Linked DNA regions of Homo sapiens: regions 1 and 3 are each linked to region 2. Evidence: promoter capture Hi-C in 16 types of primary human blood cells and fetal thymus (Javierre and others, 2016). All regions are on one chromosome and are shown on one strand. The core of a region is centred on a gene start or on the middle of the fragment in contact, and the rest is flanking DNA. Distances in the headings are between cores, read along the strand shown. Region 1 overlaps LOC101929727 (a long non-coding RNA gene). Region 2 holds the start of KLLN (killin, p53 regulated DNA replication inhibitor). Region 3 overlaps LOC101929727 (a long non-coding RNA gene).

The links. The method cuts DNA at HindIII sites, captures the fragments that hold promoters and counts their contacts. A CHiCAGO score of 5 or more calls a contact.
Region 1: a fragment that was not itself captured here is called in contact with the fragment with the promoter of KLLN in region 2 in 4 of 17 cell types (naive CD8 T cells, non-activated CD4 T cells, naive CD4 T cells and 1 more); the score reaches 7.9 in naive CD8 T cells.
Region 3: a contact is called between a fragment that was not itself captured here and the fragment with the promoter of KLLN in region 2, in 1 of 17 cell types (endothelial precursors). The highest score is 5.1, in endothelial precursors.

Annotation. Positions count from the first base shown.
Region 1 is chr10:88,194,278-88,196,977 of GRCh38, reverse strand. The region is part of intron 1 of LOC101929727 (a long non-coding RNA gene); the gene reads right to left. It also overlaps a transcript of RNLS not described here. Among named protein-coding and RNA genes, the nearest start is that of PTEN, 330 kb to the right of the region's middle. The HindIII fragment of the contact is 3,102 bases long and covers 1-2,700 here.
Region 2 is chr10:87,862,248-87,864,947 of GRCh38, reverse strand. It overlaps KLLN (killin, p53 regulated DNA replication inhibitor), which reads left to right and starts at 1,415. Exons shown (of 1, transcript NM_001126049.2): 1 at 1,415-2,700. The coding sequence starts at 2,461. MLDHR (mitochondrial lactate dehydrogenase regulator) reads right to left here and starts at 1,389. Exons shown (of 1, transcript NM_001433720.1): 1 at 1,294-1,389. The coding sequence starts at 1,389. The coding sequence ends at 1,294. PTEN (phosphatase and tensin homolog) reads right to left here and starts at 1,323. Exons shown (of 9, transcript NM_000314.8): 1 at 400-1,323. The coding sequence starts at 478. RefSeq lists silencers at 1,029-1,168, 1,259-1,568 and enhancers at 2,169-2,348, 2,599-2,688. The HindIII fragment of the contact is 7,182 bases long and covers 1-2,700 here.
Region 3 is chr10:88,154,235-88,156,934 of GRCh38, reverse strand. All of the region lies in intron 1 of LOC101929727 (a long non-coding RNA gene), which reads right to left. Among named protein-coding and RNA genes, the nearest start is that of PTEN, 290 kb to the right of the region's middle. The HindIII fragment of the contact is 907 bases long and covers 986-1,892 here.

The DNA of each region.
Region 1 (2,700 bases), core at 166-2,665, 330 kb before region 2:
GTCTAGCAACATGTCACTGTATCCAATGTATAGAATTAGCTCTTGCAGCATTTGGAAAGGGCTAGAAAAATTCTCCATTTGCCCCAAAACATATTGGGCTGAGAATTAATATATAAACTGGAGAGATGAGGGGATTGAGGGTATTTTATCAATTGGCTATTACTGAGTAACAAGTAATACTTCAGTGGATTAATTAAAACAATAACCACTTATTCTTGCCCACGGGTCTGCAGGTCACCCGGGCATTGTCTCGTCTAAACTGGGCTCAGCTAGGTGGCTCTACCTCAAGCTATAAGTCTGGCTACACCTAGCCCCATGCTATGGGTTCTTTATGTATTCCTCTAGGCTTCAAGCTGAGGGGAAGCAGATAACTGAGAGAGAAATGATGCCTCTTATAGTCCAAGTGCAGAACTGGTACATGGTCACAGCCATCCACACTGCATTGACCAAAGCAAGTCACAGCCAGTGGAAAAATTGACTCTGCCTTTTGTGGGAGGGACTGCAATATCACATGGCAAAGGGTGTGGACCCAAAAACAGCTGAAGCATGAGGTCAATAATTCCATCTACCAAAGACATTTTCTGATTTGGAAAGGAATGGCTAATGTAGAGGGAATAGAATAGATAGAGAGGATCTATACAATCCCACTGACTTTCAAACGATTTGCCAGAAAGGGCTTTGCCTATGAATAAAACACCACATCTCATTTCTCTAACAAAGAAGACAATTAAAGACAAACCCTCCCACCCTCCCACTTTCCCCTTCTTTTTCCTTACAAAGTATACGAAATTGTAGGATGCCAAAATATTAGGCAAGCCTGACTAAAAAGAGAGATCCCTCAAGTCTCAAATTTCAACCATCTATAAAAGTAGCATTTGGAAAATTTCTGTGAAAAATGCAAACCTTTGCACTTGGGTCTCAGAGTCCCCATTTTATCTACACCTCTGTAATCTGTAAACACAGACGCCATCCTAACTGCATGACAAATAGGAACAAGTATCCTAATTAAACAAAAAGACAAAAGACCCTAGAAACATAAATTGGAAAGGACTCAGGTCATATTTTATTACAGAAAGCCAGGGAATGCCTCTAGCAATGTCACATTACTGGATAGAGCTGTATTTACATTTTGTTGAGTTGGTCCAGCAGTTCTAATGATGGGGCTGTTTTTGAATCAGGGAGATGGTTCCAATGAAAAACTGGATAGGTCTGTCTTTTCAGCAGAAATCTCCCTGGTATCATTTTCTTTTCTATTCTATTTAGGCAAGCTCCACAGTGCTAACTATTTCAGTTCCCAAGAGGCAAGGAAACTTGATGAGCTCTTTCTTGGGGTCTGTGTGGCATCTGGGTACCCTCTTGCTCCCACTCTCTAATGAACTATGGGGAAATTCTTCATGTAGCTTGGTGTACAGGTCAGCATCCAGATGTCTTCTTACCCCAAACTACAGGGTCTACAGGGTTGTTCAGCCCTTCCTTCCATTCAGCAAGTAGTTACAGATCTCCCATGGTGTGCCCAGCATTGTTGCCAGGCAATGGAGGGTAGCAAAGGAGGGGGGTGTGAAATTATGTTCTCTGCACAAAAAGCAGTATTGTCTATCCACTCACTAGGTTCAGAGCTTTAGTGGCTTTAGTTGCACTACAACTGGACAACTAGGGGTTAAGTGTTTTGAGCTTTGCTTATAAAAAGACAGACCCAAATCAGATAAGGTAACTAATTTAGAAGCAATTACAATGCATTTTATCCTATTCTTTTGCCAAAGAGCACCTTATCTAAGCTGGCTTTCCTTTTTACTTTTCCTTTTAAGTCTCAAAAATATCTCATTCAGGGTCAGGAAAAAGAAGACGCACAGACCAAGCATTTTGAAAAGGGGATGATGAATGCATTGGATGCTTACACTGTGTTGAAGAGGGAATTTGGATCCAACACCCACCAGGTCTTAGGGCTTGACAGACTCACTCGAGTATGCCTGACCAACCTCATATTCTGGTGGGGATTTTTGTTTTCCATGAACATATGGATTGTGTTAGTCTTTAGGAAGCACTTAAGCTAAAAAAGAAAACAAAGTTAAGATACAGTACTTTTTATTATATGAAAGCCTAGTTCCTCTTTTTGTACTATTTAGTATTCTGCCCCTGGTTATTTCAAAATAAACAATTTTTGAAGATAAGTAAATAAGCATTGCTATTGAATACAGTGGTTCTCATACTCTTGGATGCATAAGAATCCCCTTGGGAGTTTGTTAAAAATCCAGATTTCAATACAGTAGACCTAGATAATAACCCGCAAAATTTCCATTTTTAATCATTTCTCCAGAAGATGTGGTTTACAAACAAGACTTTGAACATCACTGGTCTAATTACCTTTCTGATTGTCTTTGGTTGACTCTTAGTCATTTGTATTATGGCTTACTTCTGACTCTACCAGTGAATGACAAAGCATGACCTATTCTTGCTTTTCAGAAAGCACTTGCCTCTCCCTGGCTATATTCATTTGTGATTGGCCCAAGATGAGAGAGATATCACCTGAGTCATCAGAGAAGGAGGCTTGAGCCACTTTGTCCCAGGACTCAGAGGAAAATATGGGAGACCTCTAGACCAGTGCTTTTGAACCAGGAGCAATTTTGCTCTCTACATTTAACAGTATCTGGAGACATTTTTGGCTATCACAATCTCAGCATGAGGGGGGACAGTGAGGAACGC
Region 2 (2,700 bases), core at 166-2,665:
CTTGATCTAGGGCCTAAGCCAAGATTTAATCGAAATATGCTCAACCTCAAAAAGCGTCTACTTTTTTGTTCATTTAGGAGACCGGATTACCGAGCTCGCTAATCCACTAACAGTGTACTGTATTCTGTATTAACGGACAATAGCCCTCAGGAAGAGACCATATAGATAGCCTAAGAAAGCAATCGGTGGCTTGACACTTGCAACCAGGCAAGAGTTCCGTCTAGCCAAACACACCCTAGGTTGAATACACAGAAAGGAAACACAAAATATATGACCTAGCAACCTGACCAGGGTTAAATGTTATAGTCACCCAAACTACGGACATTTTCGCATCCGTCTACTCCCACGTTCTAAGAGAGTGACAGAAAGGTAAAGAGGAGCAGCCGCAGAAATGGATACAGGTCAAGTCTAAGTCGAATCCATCCTCTTGATATCTCCTTTTGTTTCTGCTAACGATCTCTTTGATGATGGCTGTCATGTCTGGGAGCCTGTGGCTGAAGAAAAAGGAGGAGAGAGATGGCAGAAGCTGCTGGTGGCGGGGCTTCTTCTGCAGGATGGAAATGGCTCTGGACTTGGCGGTAGCTGATGCCCCTCGCTCTGCCGCCGCTTGGCTCTGGACCGCAGCCGGGTAATGGCTGCTGCGGCGGCTGCTGGATGGTTGCAGCGACTGGGCCTGCTTCTCCTCAGCAGCCAGAGGCCTGGCAGCGGCGGCAGCGGAATGGGGAGAAGACGAATAATCCTCCGAACGGCTGCCTCCGCCGGCGGCCTCCGGAGCCCGGGCCACGGGGGGTGCGGCGGCGGCGCACGGGAGGTTTAAAACCGGCCCGGGTCCCTGGATGTGCCAGCCGCCGCCGCCGCCGTGTTGGAGGCAGTAGAAGGGGAGAGACCAACTCTCCGGCGTTCCCAGCCCTGGAAATGGTGACAGGCGACTCAGACCCCCTCCCTGGAGCTGCAGCCGCCGCGGCCGCCGCCGCCGCCGCTTCTCCCCCCCGCTCCAGGAGCGGGAGGTGCCGCCGCCGCCGCCGCGCCTCAGCCGGCTCCCGCCCGAGCCCACGGCTTCCACCTTCCCTTTCAGGAGAAGCCGAGGAAGAGGCTGCACGGTTAGAAAAGACGAAGAGGAGGCGAGAAACGCCGCCGCTGCCGCCGCCGCAGGCCGGCCGGCTCCCCGAGGGCGCTGCCCCCGCGGCTGCTCACAGGCGCTGAGAGGGGCTCCGGGCCGCGGCCGCCGCCGTCTCTCATCTCCCTCGCCTGAGCCCGGCCTCGCCTCACAGCGGCTCAACTCTCAAACTTCCATCATGGCTGCAGCTTCCGAGAGGAGAGAACTGAGCGCAGTCGCGTCCCAGCGCCGAGCGCGTATCCTGCCGCAGCGCATAAAGAGTCCCGCCACATCACCGCCCGCCGGCCTGCCCGCCCCCTCCGCCGCCGCGCCGGGAGCCCGGGCGCCTCGGAAGACCGAGGGGAGGCGGGAGGCGAGCGAGAGGCGGACGGGACCGCGCCGGGCGAGGGGAGGGCAGGGCAGGGCAGGGGGCGGTAGGAGGGGGCAGAGCGGTAGCTCTGGGTGCGAGCGCAGAGTCCCCAAGCCGCAGGCTCTACTGAGCATGCCCAGTGTAGCTGCCTGGGGCTTGCTCGGGCCGGTTCCCAGCCGCCAGCCTGCAGCTGCACTTGCTGCGGCTTTTGCAGCAACGCGAGGCGAGGATAACGAGCTAAGCCTCGGCCTCTGCCCAGAAACCCAGCCGGAGGCAGGGTAGGCTGTTGTGGGGCGGGGGTGGAGGACTGATGATGAAAGCTGAGATGGGTGCGTTGAGCAGTGTCACTGACTCGAGTCTGAGGTTACCTGTGCACAGGTGAAAAGGACCAGGTGACCACGCTGCTCAGTGTAGAGGGAAATGCAGGGACGGTCCCTGCAAGGGGAATACCCTCCCCCCTTGCCTCTACCCCTAGATTTCCGCGGCGTGGACTGCATTCGCTCTTTCCTTTTGCACCGCTGTCGGATCACAATCGTTCGCAGAGATTTGACTGTAACAGCCTTTGCCTAGAGATTCCCCCTTCCCCCAAATCTGTGTCCTCATGGTGTCAGTCTTAGCACAAAGAGCAACCTGCTATTGTGTCGCCAGCGTGTATCACCTCATCCGGCTCCCTTGCAGCGCCCCACCTCTCGCTTCCCCGGTAACTCGGCTCGTTTGCCCTAAAAATGAAAGCTCTCAGCCGAGCGTGCTGAACGTGAACACATAGCCGTTGAATTTCAAGGGCCCAAAGGGCACCTATCTAAATGAACTGAAAGAGGATCCCTGTGAGTGGGACGCACCCCGCAGGCCTCTCCTGCGCCCGCTCCGGTGCCCCCAAGAGAGTCGAGCATCTTTCCCCTCGGGCTCCAGGTCGGTTCGCGGCGTCGGAGTCAAGCTCGGTTCTCAGAGACCACCTAGCCCCGCCCCCCCTTGGCCGCCGTGAAAACCCGGCAGGATGGATCGCCCGGGGCCAGGCTCCGCGCGCCCCGGCCGGACCGTGCACGTTTGGGGTTACCGGGTTGAGTGGAAAGTACGGAACGGTAGGAAGCTGCAGCCCAGCGAGTGGGCGGGGCGAGGAGACCTAGGAGGGTTCAAAAGGAGGTGGAAGGATACACGGGCCACAGTCGGAACTACTTTCCGAAGGAGGTCACGTGTGTCCCTAGTTGGGGAACTTTCCAAATTCCCACTCCCCAGT
Region 3 (2,700 bases), core at 190-2,689, 290 kb before region 2:
ACCCTCAGAGAAACTAGAAAATGTGTTGTGTAATCAAAACTAAGAGAGCTCTGCACAGTGGCATTCTGAGTTGCATCTCCTTGTGTTTGTACCTCGTTGCAGCTGGGAAGAGTCAGAGGGACAAACAAGTTTCAGATTTTTAAACCGAAGGAAACTCTGACAGAAAATCCAGCGCTTGCTGGACCATTCTGATTCTCACCCAGCAAGGGTTAAATTATGCTCAGGAGGATCTCAGGAGACAGCAGGGTCCAAAAAAAGAAGGAAGGGTGTTGTCCCTGGGAGAAAGATGTGCCTTGAAAGCCCAGATGCCCTCACTCATGCACATGGCAGTGCTTGGTGAGGACCTCCACCCTTGAGTCAGCAGAGCTGTGTGCATGTGGCTGACCTCTGGTCACATATCTCAGCCCATACCATAAAACATCAACTTTCTGGAATCCCCATGAACTGACTCATTGTGGAGAGAGTTGAGGACTTACTTTTTAAAGCACCCAACACTTGACAAAATATCACCATTACCTTTGTAATGAAAATGTCTTAATGGGTCACAGACTTCCTTGGCTTTTTAAGCCGAGTAGGTGGAGTATAACTTATCCTTTCCTTGACAACTGACCATCATGAATGATGCTGATGCTGCTGTTCTGAGCAACCATATTTTGAGTAACAAGGTTCTAGATGATCTATGGAAAAGTACTAGGGAATGTAACAACTAGAATTAGCTAGAAGGGCACCATCATGAACATCCATTATTATACTGGGTTGTATACACTCATCTTCTTGGGATATTTTGAAGCATGTTGGAAAGAGGTTTCCACTAAACTAAATATTTCCAGATTACTGCCTGAGCTTTCTTAGTACTTCTCTGTGCTTCATTTAATATTTTTTGTCTTGTCTTTTATTCTTTTGCCCTTGCCTGCCTATATCTATCTCTTGTTCTCTCCAAACCCCTCTAACTTGCCTCTTCCCTTCTACTATAGACAGCCAAGCTTTATAAAATAGGTTGTAAAATAGGTACAAATAACACTTTAAAAGGGTGAATTTTATGATATATGAATTATATCTCAATAAAGCTATTTTAAAGTGCATTGCAAACTATAAAATCTTACAAAAGGTGAGAAATCACATCACTCTGTTTATATGATAATAAACTATTTCACTCTTTTATTTAAAAATATAAAAGCCCAAATAGGCTCTGAGTTGACTTAGAACTTCTCCAGAAGTAATATGCCTAAGAGTTAATGTATGGCCTTTGAGACATCTATTTTTGTTTACATAGGTGATTTTTTGGCTTAGTTCTTCATCTTGTAAGTGAAATTAATAGTGAGATGTGGTATGACTCTAGCTGCTTTGATTGAAGCCTCCTTCTTTATCCTTTCTTCATTCATTTGGCATTTTTGGATGGCCTACTCTGTGCTGGGCCCTAGGAGTAAACATGAATTTCTAAGTGATTCATAAGCAAATGAGTCCTTGTGCAGATCTTTAGGTGTAACACTCTAGGAAGTATGAGTTTTAATGCTTCCTTGATTTTTTTCCCTTAATAACTTCATGACCCCCAAATCCAATCAGTCCCTATAGAAGCAGCATAACCAACCAATTGGATTGCCAGCCTGTTGTTGGAGAGTTGGCCCACAGAGTGGAGATTCCTGATCAGAGGACAAAGCTGAAAGGACAACATAGAACTACTTCTAATTGTCACATTCCCTAGTACTTTTCCATAGATCAGCTAGAACCTTATTACTCAAAGTATGGTTGCTCAGAACAGCAGCATCAGCATCATTCTCATCACACCTTGTAGTGTGTGAGAAATAGAAAATCTTAGGCTCCACCCAAGACCTATTACAGTAGAAGCAGCCTTTTAACAAGATGCCCAAATGATTCATATGCTCATTAAAGCTTGAAAAGCACTGATCTAGATAATATTTTACACTAGCATGCCTGAAACACCTGTCTCTTCACCCACTGCAATAATCACAGCTTTCAGAGCCCTTAGATGAATGATGCCCAACATGAGAGGCCATCGTTTGGCACAGAGGCACATCCCACCAGTTAGTAGGCAGAAGACGGTCTTGATGATGCTGAGCAGATGTTCAGCGTTCTTGCTGAACAGTCAGAGACCATTGCTGTTCTCTTCACAATGTCTGTCAGGTTCAATAACTCTTCTCCAGTGACTCACCTCTTTATACACACGTGCTGTAATTTTCTTTAAAGACTAGTTTGTCAGCAGCATCCAAAGCTGGATCTACTTCCTTTGTTGCAAAACTTCATCTGTATTCTTGGAAATACCCGCCCCCCAGTTCAAATTCAACTCTAGTCTTCCTAACACCATTTCATTCATCCATTCGTTCACTTGAAAAGTACTTACTGAAAGATTACTATGTGCCAGGGACTACCAGCATCTCCACCATGTAAACATTTGCACTCCCTCTCTGCCAACTAGCTTGCTTGCTTGCCTTTAACACTTAGTTTCTACTTTTTACATAATATTGGAAACATTTTTAAGTAGAAAACATACTCTCTATCCTTAAATAACTAATACTGTAATTGAGAGGGCAAGATATAGAATTTAAAAATATGTGAAGAGTAAATTTTCAAGTCCCAAAAGGGATGATATATCCTATACTACAACAAGCACTGCATTGTGCCTGAGTCAAGAATCCATTAATCCACTTCAGGATCCTAGATACGTCTCTTTGTCCTTCTAAT